Linked DNA regions of Homo sapiens: regions 2, 3, 4, 5, 6 and 7 are each linked to region 1. The links are contacts of gene promoters, found by promoter capture Hi-C in blood cells and fetal thymus (Javierre and others, 2016). All regions are on one chromosome and are shown on one strand. The core of a region is centred on a gene start or on the middle of the fragment in contact, and the rest is flanking DNA. Distances in the headings are between cores, read along the strand shown.

Region 1 (2,701 bases), core at 202-2,701:
TTTACCCAGGTTCCCTTCTAACCTCAGAAACCACCAAACACAGCCCCACAGCACAATCTTAATAACAGCAGTTCCTCCTTGGCCTGCCAGCACCCACTCTGCGTTATGTGCCTACCTGGTGGTTGTGATATACAGAATATACTGATAGACAAGAAAAACTAGGTGAAGCATTTTAAAGAACATTTCAGAAATGATGGGAAGGGGTGGGAAGGGAGGGGCGGGAACAAGACCACACAGTGTTCAACGACTTAGCGGTTCCAGTGAACCAACTGATGCCCGTCTTCAGGGACAGACAGCTAGAAATTCTAGACTAGAACAGAGGCGTCATGGTTTGCCTACCCTTATCCTAAACAATTACCATGCGAACAACTTAATGTCGATCACAACAGATGTAAGTCCGGAGTCTCTCCACAGTTTCCAGGAGGCTGGTGGCAAATAATTGCCCTCGTCTTGGATTCAAACACGTGGCTATTCATGAGACGTTCTGCCTCTACTTTAGAGATTATCGACATCAGCAAATGCGTGCCGTTCACCTTCTACAACCGAAAACGCCCTTCAGGTGGCATTCGAAAAGCAGCCACTCCCTGATGCCATGCGGGAGCGAGCATGGAAAGCGCATTTCTGAAAGGAAACACCCAGAAAGGGTAAGTTCACCTTGGGTGGCACAAAGCGTGCCAGGGTTCACCGGCCTCCTGCATGGAAGGGAGCCACGGCCAGCGCGCCCGGGTCCCGAAGCGCAGTGGACAGGCAAGGCCCCCACGGGCGCGGCCTCGAGTTCCAGCCAGGGAGGCCCCGAGTCCAGTCCTAAGCCCCAGCCAGAGTCCTGGCCCCAAGTCTCGGCTCCGAGTCCAACCCCGAGTCCCGGCCGGAGCGGCCCCGAGATCCGGCGAGGAAGCCCCGAGTCCCCGCCAGGGAGGCCCCGAATCCAGCCCCAAGTCTCGGCCCCGAGTCCAGCCCCGAGTCCAGCCCCGAGTCCCAGCCCCGAGCCCCGGCCGCGCAGGCCCCGAGCCGAGGGCGCCCCGCCAGCCCGGCCCTCACCTTCCTGCTCGCGCCGCCAAGGGACACCTTGGGCCGCGTCTTGAAGTCGCCTTCGAAGCTGAACATCCTGGCAGCCTAGCCCATGTGCGGGCAGCGCCGCCGCGGAAGCAGCCGGGCGGGCGGGGCACGGGGCGGGCTGGGAGGCTCTCGGCGCCCGCCCGCCCGGCCCGGGGCAGCGAGGACGCGGCGGCCGGGAGGCGACCCGAGCCCGCCCCCGGGCTGTACCCTCCCAGCCCTGCCCTGGGGCGGGAGGGGCGGCAATACTGGAGGGGCGGCCCTGCCTCGCCTGCCCCTCATCCACGCCGGCCACAGCTCGGGCCGCTGCAGGGGCGCCCAGCGGGCAGCAAACCCGGCGCTTGCACCTGGAACTGCCGCCTCGGGAGGGAAGATGGCGGTCAGCCGTCAGTGCGTGCGCGGCCCTGCAGACGTGCGCGGCCCTGCAGACGTGCGCGGCCCTGCAGACGTGCGCGGCCCTGCAGACGTGCGCGGCCCTGCAGACGTGCGCGGCCCTGCAGACGTGCGCGGCCCTGCAGACGTGCGCGCCTCCGCCATTGACGGCACGGCGCTCTTCCCGGCGGTTCCGCTAGCGTGCGCGGCCCCGCAAGGCGCGCTGGAGCCTGGGGAGGACGGCGGTGACGCGGGCTGGGCACGCGGCGGAGTGGGCGGGGCCTGGTGCGTGCTGGGGGAGCGCGGCGAGGGGCGCGGGAGGTGTTGGGTGCGGGGCAGGGTGCGGGAAAGGTGGAGTGCGAGGCACGGGCCGGGATGGGGTGCAGGGCAGGGTGCGGGGTGCAGGGTGGGGTGCAGGGGCCGGCACCCGGAGCGGGCTGGGAGCGGCCAATCTGGTGCCAGACTCGAGTGAGGCGGGAAAGGAGCAGCTAGGCCCAGCCCGTCTGTTTACATCCCACCTGTTCTATGTCTATGACACGCACAGACGGACGTAAATATTTACCATGTACACAGACATGCGCAGATTTGCCTCATACATAGCACACATATGCATCTATAGATACAGCATCAATACATATAAATATGTATCATGTACACATACCTGTGTATGCAAAAATATTTGCTCCTGGACTTACCATGGGGCTTTGTCCTGATAAACCCATCGTAAGATGAAAATATTGTAAGTTGAAAATGTATTTAATGCTACAATAAACCCATCACAAAGTCAAAAAATTGTAAGTTGAGCCATTTTAAGTTGGGGACCACCTATACATAAACATGTGTCTTATATCCACACATACGTATACATAATATCTCATATACATGTGCATATACATATATATCATACACGATTGAAACCAATTTCTAAAAATTGATTTTTGGTTGTATACAAGGTGTGCAACATGATGATTTCATAGAGACATTGTGAAATGACTACCCTCTTTGTGTGTGTGTGGTAAGAGTACATAAAATCTACTCTCTTAGCAAAATTTCAACACACAATACGATATCATCTACAGTCGTCCTGCGGCCGAGCACGGTCGCTCACGCCGGTAATCCCAGCACTCTGGGAGGCCAAGGCGGGCGGATCACCTGAAGTGAAAAGTTCGAGACCAGCCTGGCCAACATGGTGAAACCCCATCTCTAATAAAATACAAAACTTAGGCCGGTGTGGTGGTGCACGCCTGTAGTCCAAGCTACTCTGGAGGCTAAGGCA
Region 2 (2,701 bases), core at 121-2,620, 1.8 Mb after region 1:
CATCCTCAGAGCCCCAAGTGGTAAGAAGACCCCAGAGCTGCTTCTGCAAGTCAAGTTGGTCAGACTGTCCATGCCTATATTGATCACTGGAAAGGGGAGTAGAACAGTTATGATTGGCAGAGAGATGACCCTCCAATGTGAAGAGCTGTTGGTGAATCCATCGCAGAGACCACTGCAGATGGTGACTCTGCATTGGAGTGGAGGGTGGGCCAAGGCAGACTGTGTAGGATGAGAAGTCAGTGTGCCTCGTACAGCCCTGAGGCTGGAGCAGAGGAAAGGGGCTGCCAGGGGCAGTGGCAGAAGGTCCAGTAAGATAGGAAGAAAGTGTGCGACCAAGAAATCCGGGGGGGGGATGTTCTGGAAAGGAGAAAGTGGCAGCCATGGCATGCAAGACAGAGACCAATCATGTCTGGGGGTCCTGTGATGTGGTCAGCAGGAAGCTCGGTGTGAGTGGCCTGAGTCACGGGGGAAGCTGCGCTTCCATGAGATAAGGAGACAAGGAAAATGAGGCTGCCAGTGAAGATCCCTCTGGAAGGGGTCTGGCTGTGAGAAGGAGGGGAGAGATGATGGAAGCTGGAGGAGAGAGTGATGGGGAAAGAGTTTAGTTTGTCTGTCTGTTTGTTTGTTTATTTTGAGACAGAGTCTTGCTCTGTCAGCCAGGCTGGAGTGCAGTGGCTCGATCTCAGCTCATGCAACCTCCACCTCCCTGGTTCAAGGGATTCTCCCTCCTTAGCCTCCCACTCAGGATTACAGGCACCTGCCACCACACCCGGTTAAGTTTTGTATTTTTGTAGAGACAGGGTTTCACCATGTTGGCCAGGCTGGTCTTGAACCCCTGACCTCAGGTGATCTGCCCGCCCAAAGTGTTGGGATTACAGGCATGAGCCACGGCGCCCAGCCTGTTTTGTTTTAAAAAATGAGAGACGTGAACAAATATAAACGCTGATGGACCCAGTAGAAAGATTGAAGAAGAAGGGCAGGGCGTGGTGTCTCACGCCTGTAATCCCAGCACTTTGGGAAGCTGAGGCAGGTGGATCACGAAGTCAGGAGTTCGAGACCAGCCTGACCAACATGGTGAAACCCCGTCTGTATTAAAAATACAAAAATTAGCCAGGCGTGGTGGCACATGCCTGTAATCCCAGCTACTCGGGAGGCTGAGGCAGGAGAATCGCTTGAACCCAGGAGGTGGAGGTTGCAGTGAGCCGAGATTGCTCCATTGCCCTCCAGCGTGGGTGACAAGAGTGAGACTCTGTCTCAAAAATAATAATAATAAAATAAAGAAAGACTGAAGAAGAGGGAGTGAGAGCAGGCAGTGGAGAGTGAGGTCCCTGAGGAGAAGATTAGAGGAGGAGATTGGTGTCTAGGACCAATCCTAGTGGGGATTCCTGGGCAGGCACACCCTCTACTGAGGAAGTAGGTGGGAGAGATGGGGGCGGTGTGGTGGGGTCGCCTTCCCCTCAGGAAGTTTCTGTCATTTCTGAAGAAGGAGGAGAGCTCCTGAGTTAAGAGGGAGACAGGAGCGATTGGAAACTGGGAGTGTAAACCCTTTGGTGTGGAGTGCCTGGTGGAGGTTTGTGATGGCGACTTCACAGGGCCCAATCTGCAGGGTGGCGTGGGAGTTCTTCTCTACGACACTCCAGGCTGGGTAGCAATGGCAGAGCATTCGAGGGGCCTCTAGAATTGGTTTTTTCCTGGTGGTGCCAAGGAGGGGCAATGGAGCAGTGGAGGGCAGGTTAGCGGCAGGCGGCTGGTGGCGTCATGGAACCTGGGTCAGGTGAAATGGAGGTGAAAGGAGTATGCCGGGAGGAAGAGGGCCCCACAGAGGGAAGGGTCAGTGTGTAGAGGCTTGCCCTATGTGAACACTGGGTATTGGCCCTACAAGGGTAGCAATATTCATTGATTAATGCAACCCAAGCTCCCACAGATTCATTACTGGATGGGTGATCTGAAGGCGAGAGCCTGGGCAGGAGGAGGCTGTGTGGGCACATGGCGTCAGGGGAGAGCCACTGCAGAGGGTGGCAGTCCCCACGATGAGCCTGGGATTGGGTGGCTGGAGTGGTGTGGAGTGAGTCACCAGGGCCAAGGAGGTCAGGGAACCCAGAGGCGAGGCCTTGGATGAGTCATGCTTGAGTGGGACGAAGTCCTCAGCACAATGACAGGTTTGGGATATGGAGACAGACTGTGTGTCAGGTGTCTGAGTCCCTGGGGAGTGAAGGCAGCAGATAGCAGTGGCAGAGGGGGTGCACTGGGTGGGATGGTGTGCCCCCAAATTCATGTCCTTCTGGGAACCTCAGAATGTGACCTTATTTGGAAATCGAGTCTTTGGAGATGTAATGAGTTAAGATGAGTTCCCACTGGAGTAGGGTGGGCCCAAATCCAACATGACTGTTTCCTCCTAAGAAGAGGAGGTGAGACCCAGAGACAGACATGCAGGAGAAGCCGTGTGAGGACGGAGGCGGACATGCGCCATGGTTTGCTGGGAGCCACCAGAGGCCGGAAGGAGTAAGGAAGGATTGTCCCGTAGGGCTCTCACAGGGAGCAGGGCCTGGAAACACCTTGCTTTCAGCCTTCTGTCCTCCGGGACTGGGAGGGATGTGGAGCATGGAGCAGGAAGGAGTGAGGGGCGGAGGGGCCAGGGGCTTGCCACCTGTGTGGTCATGTCAGGCCTTGGCCCCACGGTCGGTGGCTACCACCCAAAATA
Region 3 (2,701 bases), core at 124-2,623, 1.7 Mb before region 1:
GGAGTTGAGAGTTTAGACTCTGCAATGTTTTACATATGTGATATAATCTCCACATACATATGCACACAAAATTATGAAGACGCAGGAACGAGGGGAGACAGATTCCTATGTAAAGGTGACCCTGCTTCTTCTGGGCATTTGTTTATTCATTCAGTACCTGCCAGTGCCCTACTCTGTTACAAATTCAGTAAAAATTTCCTTGGAATTCACTGAATATGCTCAAAAACAGTCAAGTAGGATGTTCTTTGCTACTGTTTGGCTTGGAGTTTCCTTGAAAGAAACTACAGAACAAATATAATTAACTCGATTGAATTCACTGGAAAGTAAAGTGATCAATAGTTGTGTTTTTGAGTTAACTGAAAAGTGACCTCAGGAATCACAGGAAAGGCCCAAAATTAGTCGTTTGAAACAGCTATTCATAGTTGGCCACAATATTAACACCTTCGGCGAAGCTGCGTGGTGCCCGGGGTGGAGTTCCCGAGTGTCAACAGCGTCCCTTGGGCGCTTGCGGTGGTCTTTGCCCGGCACTACCAGACCCCTCAGGGAGGACTTTTGGGATTAAAGGCATCTTAAAAGCCAACTGAACTGTGTGAGAGTTGTCAAGGTCACAACGGAGTCGTTTGTGTTTAAAACCCTGACAAGCAGGGTGGGAAGGGCCCCAGAGGCAGCGTTCTCACGCCGGAATGCCCGATAACAAGACCGTCCCGAGAGACTCCGCAAAAGCCACAACCTTGCACACTGGCTAGGCAACCTCACACCGAAAAATACCGGAGGACTCCCGCCAGCGGCGCCCGTCCGACCTCCGGCGGGCGGCGCCCTCTCACCCGTCCTCCTGGCCGCAAAATGACCGCAAACAGGGACGCCGCCCTCTCATCCCACCGCCACCCCGGCTGCGCTCAGCGGCCGCGCACCCCCACGTTTGCCAGCAGCTCCCAGAGGCGGTCAGCCTTTGGGTTTGACGACGGCAACTTCCCGGGCCTCGGCGAGCGCAGCCACGCACCCGGAAGCCGCCTCGGGGCGCGACGCCGAGCCAAAACCGCCCGCGGGCTCCGAGGCCACAGGCAAGTGGGGAGGGTGCCCCGTGGGGCTCGAGGGGACGCAGGCACGCCCAGCCCACGCACCGAGCACTCTCCTTTCCCGTCCCCGGCTCCCGCCAGCCGAGACACAACGCTCGCGTGATGACGTCGTGCGCCTGCCCGGCCCACTCCAGTAGTCTCCGACCCGGCCCACGGCCCGCCCCGCGCGATGACGTCAGTATCCACCCCGCCCGCTCCCGGTGACGTGCCAGCCCCAGGCCCACGCCGCTCCCGCCCCGCGTGATGACGCCACCGTCCCGGGCGGAGGCGGGCGTGCGGCGGAGCCGCGTCCCCTCAGAGGGGCGCTGGCGCGGGGCTGAGCCGCCCGGGATCAGCGCGAGCACCCAGCCCGCCTCGGCCGGGAGGGCAGCGCGGCACTGCGGGGCGATGAGCGGCGCCCGGGGCGAGGGCCCGGAGGCGGGCGCCGGCGGGGCTGGGGGCCGCGCGGCGCCTGAGAACCCCGGGGGCGTGCTGAGCGTGGAGCTGCCCGGGCTGCTGGCGCAGCTGGCGCGGAGCTTCGCGCTGCTGCTGCCCGTGTACGCGCTGGGCTACCTGGGGCTCAGCTTCAGCTGGGTTCTCCTCGCGCTCGCGCTGCTCGCCTGGTGTCGCCGCAGCCGCGGCCTCAAGGCCCTGCGCCTGTGCCGCGCGCTGGCGCTGCTGGAAGACGAGGAGCGCGTCGTGCGCCTGGGGGTGCGCGCCTGCGACCTGCCCGCCTGGGTGAGTGCAGACCCCTGCCCGTCCCGACCCCTGACCACCAGTCCCGATCTCCCCTCGTCCAGGCAGGCACTCCCCTCCCCGCGACCTGCCGCCTGGGTGAGTGCAGACCCCAGCCCTGCCCCGGCTCCCGCCTTCGTAGTCCCCCACCCACCCCGGTCCAGGCAGGCGCTTCCCTTCCGCCTGGGCGAGTGCAGACCCCAGCCCCGGCCCCCGGGCCGGTTCCTGCGACCTGCCAACCTAGGTGAGTGCAGACCCCGCCCCGCCCCCCGGCCCCGACTCCCAGCCTGCTGGCGACCTGCCCGCTAGGGCGAGTGCAGACCCCAGCCCCGCCCCGGCCTCCGGCCCACTCCCTGCGAACCTGTCCGCCTGGGGCCGCCGCCCGCTGCTCGCCGCTCCCGCCCTAGTCCTGAGTGCTCCGTGCCCTCCCTCCGTCCAAGTCGGGCGTCCCCTTCTCCGCTTCCCCGCCCGCCCAGGCTCCGGGTCCGGGGCGCGTCTGCCCTCGTGAAGCCTCCCCTCGCCGTCCCGCGCGGCTTTCTCGGAGACCCCTCTTCACAAAGCCCGCTTCCCTCCCCCGGCCTGCAGACCCCGAGCGCCAGCGGCAGGTACCGGGCTTGGCGCCCCCTCTTCGGCCGCGGCCCTGCCCGGAGCGCGCGCTTCCTCCTGGTGCCGCCCGCGGGGTCTCCTTAGGGGCCTGAGCGGCCGGTTCTGCTCTCAGAGCGCCCAGCGCGATTCTCGTGCGCATTCCCAAAGCCCTGCCGGCCTGGAAATGCTCCGGGTGGCTTCAGCTTTTCCTTCTCTCTGTTTTTTAAAAAACGTAATGACAGCTGGTGGGGGAGAAGTTAACTTTTTCTTCTACCGGGAGAAGACGCACTCGTGTCTTGGTTGTTTCTGACGCATTTCAAGGGCAG
Region 4 (2,701 bases), core at 52-2,551, 1.6 Mb before region 1:
TGTAAGATTTTAAGAACACAGATGATCTCATGCCTCATTCATTCATTTATTCAGAAAATATTTTCTTCAAGCATCTAAAATGTGCCAGGCCTTACGCCACGGATATAGGACTAAGGATGACACAGTGCTTGACATGGAGGAGATGATGAGGCCTGTGGTAGGGGGCTAAGAGATTGCATTACAGTGAGGGTTATGGGGTTCAGGAAATAAACCCCTATAGAAGGTAAAGCTTGAGCTGAGTTCTGGAGGAGTGTCATCTATTTGCGGGGAAGGTCACATTCCCAGTGAACGGTGATGGCAGCGGGAGGCAGACAGGTTCCTGGGTGGGAAGGGGCAGGTCCCTGGTGAAACCCCACTTTCAAGCCAGGGACAGCCTGAAGTTCCTGGGCCAGGATGCCAGTTCCTGGTGAAGTCCGAGATCCAGAAAGAGAACTTACTTGATGCCTTTCAGCCAATCAAGTAGTGCTTTTTCCAGGCCTGCCCATGGGCCAATCAGCACACACTTCCTCCTGTCTATGGACCAATCAACATGTACTTCCTCCATTCTGAGCCCATACGTGCCTGTGGATAGGAGCTACCCACTTCGAGTCTCCTCTCCACTGAGAGCTATTTGGTCAGCTGTTCTCTGCCTTGCTCACCCTCCAGATGTCTGCCAAACCTCATTCTTCCTGGACATGGGACAAGAACTTGGAACCTGCTGAATGGTGAGAGCAAAACGAGCTGTAATACTTTCCTGGCCAGCTTGCCAAGTTGCAGGTGGGAGCCAAAGTGGCTGTAACGGGTTCCTGGCCGGGTCGCTGAGCTGCGGGTGGTGACACGCTCCCAGACTGAGGGAGTGAAGAGTGGTGACCCTTGTAGAGGCCCAGGCCTTGGGATTCCCCAAGCCAGAGCTATAATGCTATAGCCCTCCCACCCTCTGCTGGCGCCCAGTGGCCACCCCATGCAGTGGGAAGCAGCGGTGGGGCCGGGACAGCCAAGGAGCCGTGGACCGGTGTGGGGCGGCAGGACCAAAAGACCTGTAACACAAATGAGGTGAAACATGCCGCCCCGGAAACACGACCCCCTGCTAGCCACGCTGTGGGTGATGAGAAGGACAGAAGAGCTGTGGCCCTTCTGGGAGCCCAGACCTCGGGGCTCCCCGAGCCAGGGCTGTGACACAGTGTAACCCCCCTTTGGGGCTCTGTGGCTCCTGGCATCTGTGAGCTTTCGGGTGCCACCATGTTCCCCTTGTCCAGATGCTGATGCCTGCAGTGGAAGCCACTTGTGGTACCTCTGGTCCAGCCACAGCCTTGCATGGAGCCGGCAGCTGTGCAGGCACCTAGAGCTGCCTGCTCCACCACAGCAGCTGCATGGCTGGGTGTGCGCAGTGGTTGGACCCCATGCTCGCTTGCTCACATACCCCTTGCCGCTCTGCACCTGGCTCACCCTTGGCAGGCGTGGGATCTGGGTTGGTAGTGCAAGCCGAGTGCAACCTGCTGGGCTGAGTGGGCTCGAGCAAAACTCTAGCAGAGGCACCGCTGGCCACGGAGGTTTCTAGCTGGTGAAGCGATACCCAAAGGATCCTATGACATTAGTGGCTGCATGGGCAGGTGCATTGGGGGTGCACTGGGCGCTCCTGCTGCCCTGCTTCCACGTGCCTCTGAGCACTGCACTACATAGACATTTAGGCCTCATAACAACCCCCTAGAGGAGGCTGAGCTCTGCATTATACAGACATTTAGGCCTCATAACAACCCCCTAGAGGAGGCTCAGTACTTAAGTAGGTCCCATTTGATAGATGAGGAAACTGAGGCTCAGTCGTCCATGGCTTGTCAAAGGTCACCAGCTAGTGAGCACAGAACCAGGTTAGCCCAGGTGGTACAGCTTCAGAGCTCACATGCGTAACTTGTTACATTATTCCTACTCAGGAAGTGGAAACCCCAGGAACAGATGGCTGATTGGAGGAGGGACCAGCATAAGGAAAGGGGCAGGATTCAGGGGTGGGAGGGGAAGTCGATATCTGTTTTGGATGCATGTCAGCACCAGCGTGGGAGTAGGCAGTGAGCTGTTGAAAATTCTGGAGTTCAGAAATAACCGTGTCTTGCAAATCCAGATGCAGAGGTCACTGCTTGAAGGTGGCAGTTTGCACCTTGGATATGAAGGAAATTGCTAAGAAGAAAGCAGTGAGAAGATGAGGGCACCAAAATTCAAGAAATGGCAGGGAAGGATCTGTGTATGGAGGGAGGAGGAGGTCAGAGGTGGCTGGAGCCCCAGGATGAAATAGGCAATGTTAGATATCGGCCACCTGTTGACAAGGGTCCCAGACTCAGCATCCTCTGAGTGGGTCTTCTCCCTCCCCTCTGCAGCCTGCCTTGCTTCACTGTTGCAAGCTTCCTAGTAAACCAGTCTTCTCCCTGCTATAATTTTATATTGCTTGTTGAAACGATATTCCAACAAGTAACATAAATATTTTTGATATACTAGGCTAAATAAAACATATTTAAAAATTAATGTCACCTATTTATCTTCATTTTTCTAATGTGGTCACTAGAAATTTACAAGTGCACTTGTGGCTCCCATGATGTTCCTATTGGTTGGTGCTGTGCTCCCACAGTGCAACGACTTCAATCTCGCCAAGACCTCTGGCTTGAGTTAAGCCAGGAAAACAGATACCACTCTAGACATCTCAAGCATGAAAGAATATAGCTCCAGGGAAGGCCAA
Region 5 (2,701 bases), core at 72-2,571, 1.6 Mb before region 1:
GTCTAAGTTAATGAAAATATTTGATTATGAAATATATAAAATTTTAGTTACAAAAGATGTAAAAATATCTTAATGATTTTTAAGAAAACTTTTCACATACCCTCATCCTTCACTGTGCGAGTGTAATTAGTTTGTTGTGACAAAGTATCTCATCAAGCTTCTTATTCTTAGCATCACTTGGATTTATGTATGTTTTATAGTACATTGTTTTATTCTGAATTCTTGAGTTGAAATACAGTGTCTTATTAAAAAGTCACCCCAATCATAATGAAAATAGCTTCCAAATGCTTTGTGAATTTTACTATCAGTTTATTTGTATGGTCTGCAAATAACTAGTGAAATGATTAGTGCTAACACTGTAGTTGCTATCAACTTCCCAGTTAATTCAGGAATGTTATATTAGTGTAATGACATTCAGATACCTACAGATTATAATTATGAGCATTAGTATCATTAATCTAATTATTGAGCTTTTCTGTTAATAAAAGCACTGCAGTTTTTGTATTCATTATGGTAATTGCTTTGACTGTTTTTCACCTCTGAGCCAAAATTTGAGGCTGGCACATTGAGGGATAGTAGTGGATTATTGATTGGTCAGTAGACCTGTCTTGGCTCTGGTGTTAACAGAGATACCATTGGTGTTGTTACACTGAGGTTTGGTTAGCCTCAGCATCTGCCTTTCTAAAATTGGTGATACGATTTCTCTGAGACTTCCAGTTCCAAAAATCTCTTTTCTATTATGTCTGTTGAGGGTCTTTTTATAACAATCGTCAAACAGTTTTTTAATTAACATTATTTGCATTTTATAACTAATGTATATAAATCTTTGGCAAGTTAAACATAACTAATATTATTTGCTTAGCAAAGCTTTAAATAATATATAAAGTCATGATACTCTAAACTGTTGACTCTGAAGTAATAAGAATTTGCCTTACTAATTGGAAAATTACTGTGCTGTATTTTAGGTATTTTATATGCATTACCTGAGTCTGAACGAAAACTACAGAGTTCTATTCAGGATTTGTGTGTTACCTGGTGGGAGAAAGGCCTGCCTGCCAAGGAAGACACAGGAAAGACAGCCTTTGTCATGTTACTAAGGAGGAGTCTGGAGACTAAGACAGTATGCTCACTTTTTATTTTTTTAAAGACAGGGTCTCTCTCTATTGCCCAGATGGAGTGCAGTGGCATGATCATAGCTCACTGCAGCCTCAAACTCCTGGGCTCGAGCAATCCTCCTGCCTCAGCCTCTCAAGTAGCTGAGACTTCAGGAGTGCACCACCTAGCTAGGACTTTATTTTTAAACGTCTTCCTAACATTCTAAACCTGCGCTATTCAACGTAGTAGCCACTTGCCACAGAAAGCTGTTTAAATTTAAAGTTAAAAATAATGAAAAATTCAGTTCCTCAGTTGCATTAGTCACATTTTAGTAGCTCTACAGTGAAATGTGGCTAATGTCTACTGCACTAGACAGTTCAGATGTATAAAATCTTCATCATCGAGGAAGTTCTTAAACTTGCTGGATTTTTAATTATTTTCCTTATGTTTTAAAAAAATGTTCTGTAGAGCTATAGGGGGCATTTGCAAATTTTAAAATCTGTTTTTATTTGTCGTTATTTTTTAATCTTTGATGAATCAACTAGAATTACCATTATTTATGATATAAAATATACTTGATTTGAAATATGACTTTACTGTTCATTGAAAAAGGTATCACATTTTTTGTGTCATTCCTAGGGTGCAGACGTATGTCGGCTTTGGCGTATCCATCAAGCTTTATATTGCTTTGATTATGATTTGGAGGAAAGTGGAGAAATTAAAGATATGTTACTTGAGTGCTTCATAAATATTAATTATATCAAGAAAGAAGAGGTAAATAGGTATTTGTTTTTTGATCTGTTTGTGAGCTGCTTCTTAATAGATGTTTCTCCTGTGTTCACATGGTTCCTGTCTGCACCATGCTCGGTGTTGCTTAGCTACCAGGAGCTATTTACTGCACATGATTTTTACTGCATGGCAGTACTAGAGAAGACATTTTACAAGTCCTTGCTTATTTCATCATTAAATTGGATGGTAACAGGTGGCTGTGTGTTACCTAGGGGAACCGTAATTACATTTTAAATTAAGAATGATTAAAAATAAGGTTGAGAAAGCACTTCTCTATGAATGAGATCTGGCCTTCTGCCCTAATTCCATTTTAATTGCCATGTACTCAAAACTGTCATCCCATAATATCCTCCCTTTCTTTTTTCTACCCATCCTGTAAATCCAGAGAGGCTTCTGGCCTGTTGCTGCACTGCCCGTCCTGGGGTCAACTCCCATATGAGGCTACTGAGCACCTGAAATGGGACCCAACTGAACTGAGATTAGCCATAAGTATAAAATACACATGGATTTGAAGATTTAGTGGGAAAGAAATGAACATAAAATAGCTCATTAATAATTTTTGTTCTATACTTAATATAATAGACAATATTTTTATTGTCTGTTATATTAAATATTGCTTTACATAAAATATATTATTAAAATTAATCTTCTTTACTTTTGTTAACATGACTACTAAAGAATTGAGAATTACAGAGAGGCTCGCATAGTTCTTCTGTGTTAGGGGCCTTCTGCAGTTGTTTACTGAGCGTCGACTACATGCTCAGGCAGTGCCAGGGGAGACTAGAACAAGCTTTTGCATTTGGATGCTCATGGCTCA
Region 6 (2,701 bases), core at 75-2,574, 1.5 Mb after region 1:
TCTTGTTCATGAACTCCACCAGGTTCTCACAGGAAAGGTGGGAGAATCCTGAGAAAGTTCCTCATTATGTTGTTTGAGGGAGGGAACAGTGTCCACTCGAGAAACTCCATTGGTACACACCTCTCTTATCTCACTTATGGAAAAAGGCCTTCAGGGAGAAAGGCCACAAAAACCGTGGCCTTAGGGCAATGGGGAAGCCCATTTCCATTGTGCAAAGGGGACAGAAAAATAAAAAGCTCTACCCTAGGAGAGGATCAGGGATACCTGCCGAGCCCAACACTGCAGCTGGTGGGAGAAGTATTTTGAAGTCCACATCCCTGAGACCCAGACACTCCCTGTGTAAGAGGATGCTTAAACAGAACATCAGAGGATTCTGATCCTCTCCTATCTCCTGTCACCAGAATAATAGATGTCAAGTAAAAACGACAAAATACAGTTGGGAGGCCCACAAGAGACTGCTTCTTTCAGGACTACAGCGCAAAGAGAAGACCCAAAGCCCAGAGGAAGCGCAGACACTGAGAAAACAATCTCACAAATGAGCCCATGTTCTAAGTACAAGGTGTTGCCGGAGGAATTTGGAGCCTTTTGTGCACAGAGGATAGCTGTGGCAACAACAAATATCTCACTAAGCCCAACTCCTGAATAAGATAGCAAACTCATACTAACAACCTACTAGACAGCAAGATGTGCTCATCTCCAATCATAGAAAATATTTACCATAGTATACACTATCACTAAAAAAAAAACGAGGTTTCAAACAAAAATTCAGTGTACCAAAAGGAAATGCTAGAAATGGAAATGATAGAAATCAAAAGCACAATGATAGAGGTGAAGAATGCCTTCAATGGGTTCATTGATACACTTGACATGGAAAGAATAAGTTACCTTGAAGAAATATAAATAAAAATTATCCAAACTGAAGCAAAGAGAAGAAGGAGTGCAAGAAACAGAGCAGAGTATCTATGAACTGTTCAACAACATTGAATGGTCTAACATATGTATAGTTGGAAGAAGAAGAGAGAAAGGAGTGGAACAAATGTCTGAAGAACTAATTTTTTCAAGATTTATGACAGGCACCAAAACATAGACCCAAGAAGCTCAGATAACACCAAGCGAGATAAATACCAAGACACAAGCAAACAAGCAAAAGCCCCCATATCCAAATATATCATGTTCTAATTGCTGAAAAAGAAACATTTTCTCTTTTCCTAGAGAGGAAAAGAACAATAAGAATTATAGCAGCTATCTCATCAAAAAGCATACAAGCCAGAAGACAGTGGCATGACCAATCTTTTATGTACTGATGGAAAAACCTGTTGTCAGAAACAGTTACCCAGCAGAAATACCTAAGGAGCAAAAATGGAGGGAATTCATTGCGAGCAGACAAGCTCTACAGGAAATGTTAAAAGAAGTTTTTTAGGCACAAGGACTATGATAACAATCAGAAATCTGGTTCAACACAAAGAAATGATGAACACGGTTGATGATGAGTGTGGTTGAAATTGCATATATGACGGTAACATTTTTCTCCCTGTTTTTAATGCTCTGAAAGATTGATTGGAGTAAAAATAGGGAAAATGTATTGTGTGCTTAGAGCATATGAACAAGTGAAATGCATGACAATAATACAAAGGATGAAAGGGAGGAAGTGGTCATATGTTGCTATAAGGTTCTTATACTACACGTGAAGAAGTACAGTATAATATTTGAAAATAGATGCATAGTAATTAAAAATATAAATTGTAAACCCTAAGGTGACCACCAAAAAATTTTTTAAAGAAAAGTGTGTGTGTATATATATATATATATATATATATACACACACACACACTTTTATATATATATGTGTGTTTATATATATATGTTTAGGAAAGATAAAAGGAAATCATTTTTAAAAACTAACTTAATCCAAGAAAAAAAGAAATAACAAATTAAATAAAAAACAGCTAACAAGATGGTAGGTTGGAATCCAACCATATCAACTCAATTTCTATTGAATGTGAATGATCCATACACACACAACAGTCCTAACACCAAAAAAGTGTCAGATTGCATTAAGATGTAAGAATGAAATATAGGTTCTCTATTACTGTGGGAGGCTGAAGCAGGCGGATCACTGGAGGTCAGGAGTTCAAGGCCAGCTTATCCAACATGGTGAAACCCCATCTCTACTAAAAATATGAAAAAAAAAAATTAGCCGGGCGTGGTGGCAGGCACCTGTAATCCCAGCTACTCGGGAGGCTGAGGCCAGAGAATCTCTTGAACCCGGGAGGTGGAAGTTTCAGTGAGCTGAGATGGTGCCACTGCACTCCATCCTGGGCGACAGAGTGAGACTCCATCTCTAGAAACACACTTTAAAGATGTAGATAGGCTAAGTGCAAGGAAAGATATGCCATGCAAACACTAATCAAAAGAAACATTGTCTTCCATGTAACCCATTAGAATAGCTGTTATCAAACAGATGAAAGATAACAAGTGTTGGAGAGGACATGGAGAAAAGGGAACCTTTTTACACTTGGTGGGTATGTGAATTAGTACAGCCATGATGATCCAGCAATCCCCCTACTGGGTATATGCCAAAGGAAATGAAATCACTAGCCAAAGAAGTGTCTGCACTCCCATGTCCATCGCAACATTATACGGCTGTATATACTGTAGCCAAGATATGAAAGTAACCTAAGCATCCATCAATGGATGAATG
Region 7 (2,701 bases), core at 130-2,629, 1.4 Mb after region 1:
GGTATTATTCAATATATTCACTTAGTACTGGCAGTGAAATAATCCATAGCTCATATCTGTTGAATGTCTACAACAGGACAAGAAAGGTACTAGGGTCCGTACAGACATTGTTTTCCTTCAGTCCTCCTGATGGAGTTTTGGTATTTTGTCCCTCCCCAAATCTTCTGTTGAAATGTATCCCCAGTGCTGGAGGTGGGGCTTAGTGGGAGGTGTTTGGATCATGGGGCGGATGACTGTGAATGGCTTAGGCCATCCCCTTGGTGATAAGCAAGCTCTGAGTTCACAAAAGATCTGGCCATTCAGAGTGCATGGCACATGCCCCGCCCCCCACCCCACACCACCATGCTCCTGCTTTTGCCATGAAATGCGCCTGCTCCCCACTCTGCATTCCACCATGATTGGAAGCTTCCTGAGGCCTCCCTAGAAGCCAAGTAGATGCCGGCACCATGCTTCCTGTAAAGCCTGCAGAACCCTGGGCCAATTAAACCTCTTCTCTTCATAAATTATCCAGTCTCAGGTATTTCTTTATAGCAGTGCAAGAACTGCCTAATACACCTCCCTAAGAGGTAAGTAGTAGTATCCTCATTGTGCCCATTAAACAAACTTCAGTCACACAATAAGCGCTGGAACATCTTTGTGGCTCCAAAACCAGGGGAGGAGTTTACACTAACATATTTTGAAACTATTTTCAGACAGAGTTGAAACAAACGGGATCAACAATTAAATCACTTTAAATGAAGGGCTACTATAATGCTGTGCTTCTGAATTTTTCTGAAGATCATGCTAAGCAATGAAGGCTTGAACATAAGTAAAAGGTTGTTTCATTTTGTAAGAAAAAAATGAATTTTTTTTTCTAATTAAAAGAACAATTATTCCCTTTTGACTTAGCATGAGGAAAAGCTAATTCTACAGAACAGTTTCAAGTTCCCGGGTTTTACTCCAGTTCACACTAGAATGTGAACTAGCATACACATTCCTAGGTTGTGGCCAGGAGCGTAGTTTGGATCAGGTGAACAACTTCTACCCATGGGTCAAATTCTCCCATTGACTCTTCGATTCAACTTGTCCCTTTGGATTCTGTTGATCACATTCAAATTTTACTTTATTAGTGGTTTTGTTTTTGAGAAAATTTTCATTTCACCTTTCCCAATGGACAGACGTTTATTTCAAGGTACACTTCAGCCCATACTGTGGTTGACACTACAATCTCTGTCAAGAAGTAGGCAAGCGTTACTCTGAATGGCATCTAATACAGCTTGGTGGTCCTAATCATTACTTGTAAACTGACAAGTCCTATTTTAGCCACAAAATCAGGTATTACAACAGCCATGCTGGGGAAAGGAAAATATGGGTTTTGATACTACCCAGATACCACAGATGCTACCCACCACCAAGCTACCCGGCTATCTGGAAACTGCTGGTGACGTTTCTGCCCAAATTTTGCTGCCTACTTTGCAACTTGTGCTTTCGCCTGGGGTTTTACCATTCACTCCAACTCACGGGCGGCACACAGTGACATTCGGCCTCTCCTGGGTTTCCAACGTGCTCAGATTAAACATCACGATCCCAGCTACCATTTCATGTCATCTCTCAGAACAAATAGCAAGCAGAGTGCACCACGAGAGGAGTGAACTGCAACGCGCTAGACTCACACTTGGCCCAATTTATATGGCAGGATCAATGTGGAAACAACGCTTTCAATTCCCTTTTACTGCATATACCAAAACAACTTCCTGATTTTGACTTTTGATTTTAGTATGTTGTAGTACAAATATCCAGGAACAAATTCTTCAACTGATTACATCTGAGAAACAAATTGATTACATATTTTTATACCTATACTCACACATACAGACAAGATTTGAATAAGAACCAAGCCAAATTAAATCTACCCATTTATTTATAAGTCTTCTATAAGGTTATAGTTATGCATATAATTACAGCATTGAAAGAGATCCTAAAATTACTAGTACTTAGTTAAGTAAATTTTAAAATACTGTTGATTCAAATTGAATTTTAGAAGGCTGTTATCTTAACATCCACATATAAGTGTTGTATGTGGGTGACAGACTATACATTCTATTCATAAAAAGTATGTTTGCTTTGAAACTGAATTTTCCCAGGGTGGTGTTCGCTTTTTAACTCTTCAAACAACACTAGGTTCAGACAGCATTTTAAATATCTTCTACTTCCTCCAAAGCACATGAGAGAGAAAAGAAGTTTTGTCATCTCTGGTCAAACCAGAAACATTTTTTTCCCACAAATGATTATCTTTTAATGCTATAAAAATCGCTTTTTAGACTAGTTTTTTTTGTATATTTATAAAAGGCACTATTTGAATTAAGTAAGCTTAGGGAATACTTTTTATCAGCTTAATCATTACAAAAAAAAAGAGGTCTGTAGCCCCCAACATTAGCAGGACAAATTTATTTATAACAAATCGTTTAAATGCATAGATAAAAACACCTACTGATATTGTCAGGGCTTCCTGCAATTTGACAGATCAAATCTTATTTTCACTCTTAAACCCCATGAAGAAGTGCTATCACTGACTTGCATTCACTAGCAAGCAAATTGATTAACCCCCTCTATAGAAATCTCAACTCTTGATTATACCTATCAGACGCTAAGCAGCATTATTCTAGAGTGACAACACTTGACAAATTCCCCAACCATTTTTCTCAGCCTTTGTGGCCCTGCT

What was found. Contacts are between HindIII fragments. The CHiCAGO score rates a contact against its expected background, and 5 or more counts as called.
Region 2: a contact is called between a fragment that was not itself captured here and the fragment with the promoter of UBE3C in region 1, in 2 of 17 cell types (naive B cells and total B cells). The highest score is 5.4, in naive B cells.
Region 3: the fragment with the promoter of ESYT2 here is called in contact with the fragment with the promoter of UBE3C in region 1 in 4 of 17 cell types (naive B cells, total B cells, monocytes and 1 more); the score reaches 6.4 in naive B cells.
Region 4: a contact is called between a fragment that was not itself captured here and the fragment with the promoter of UBE3C in region 1, in 8 of 17 cell types (monocytes, neutrophils, M0 macrophages and 5 more). The highest score is 12.8, in monocytes.
Region 5: a fragment that was not itself captured here is called in contact with the fragment with the promoter of UBE3C in region 1 in 1 of 17 cell types (monocytes); the score reaches 6.6 in monocytes.
Region 6: a contact is called between a fragment that was not itself captured here and the fragment with the promoter of UBE3C in region 1, in 3 of 17 cell types (naive B cells, total CD8 T cells and monocytes). The highest score is 6.2, in naive B cells.
Region 7: a contact is called between a fragment that was not itself captured here and the fragment with the promoter of UBE3C in region 1, in 1 of 17 cell types (M1 macrophages). The highest score is 6.2, in M1 macrophages.

What each region holds. Positions count from the first base shown.
Region 1 is chr7:157,137,676-157,140,376 of GRCh38, reverse strand. It overlaps UBE3C (ubiquitin protein ligase E3C), which reads right to left and starts at 1,451. Exons shown (of 23, transcript NM_014671.3): 1 at 1,039-1,451. The coding sequence starts at 1,104. RefSeq lists silencers at 820-889, 940-1,329, 1,610-1,959. The HindIII fragment of the contact is 7,086 bases long and covers 1-2,701 here.
Region 2 is chr7:155,290,632-155,293,332 of GRCh38, reverse strand. All of the region lies in intron 1 of INSIG1-DT (INSIG1 divergent transcript), which reads left to right. Among named protein-coding and RNA genes, the nearest start is that of INSIG1, 5.9 kb to the left of the region's middle. RefSeq lists a cis regulatory region at 1,779-2,378. The HindIII fragment of the contact is 8,705 bases long and covers 1-2,701 here.
Region 3 is chr7:158,828,181-158,830,881 of GRCh38, reverse strand. It overlaps ESYT2 (extended synaptotagmin 2), which reads left to right and starts at 1,373. Exons shown (of 23, transcript NM_001367773.1): 1 at 1,373-1,793. The coding sequence starts at 1,464. RefSeq lists enhancers at 410-519, 2,530-2,599 and silencers at 830-1,559, 1,650-1,749, 1,800-1,989, 2,080-2,129, 2,210-2,409. The HindIII fragment of the contact is 12,010 bases long and covers 1-2,701 here.
Region 4 is chr7:158,705,679-158,708,379 of GRCh38, reverse strand. No RefSeq gene overlaps it. Among named protein-coding and RNA genes, the nearest start is that of NCAPG2, 2.2 kb to the right of the region's middle. The HindIII fragment of the contact is 2,140 bases long and covers 232-2,371 here.
Region 5 is chr7:158,688,987-158,691,687 of GRCh38, reverse strand. NCAPG2 (non-SMC condensin II complex subunit G2) reads left to right here. Exons shown (of 28, transcript NM_017760.7): 5 at 966-1,120; 6 at 1,735-1,869. Among named protein-coding and RNA genes, the nearest start is that of NCAPG2, 14 kb to the left of the region's middle. The HindIII fragment of the contact is 904 bases long and covers 870-1,773 here.
Region 6 is chr7:155,634,674-155,637,374 of GRCh38, reverse strand. No RefSeq gene overlaps it. Among named protein-coding and RNA genes, the nearest start is that of RBM33-DT, 8.4 kb to the left of the region's middle. The HindIII fragment of the contact is 7,915 bases long and covers 1-2,701 here.
Region 7 is chr7:155,755,515-155,758,215 of GRCh38, reverse strand. The region is part of intron 14 of RBM33 (RNA binding motif protein 33); the gene reads right to left. Among named protein-coding and RNA genes, the nearest start is that of SHH, 56 kb to the left of the region's middle. RefSeq lists an enhancer at 2,122-2,701. The HindIII fragment of the contact is 1,944 bases long and covers 408-2,351 here.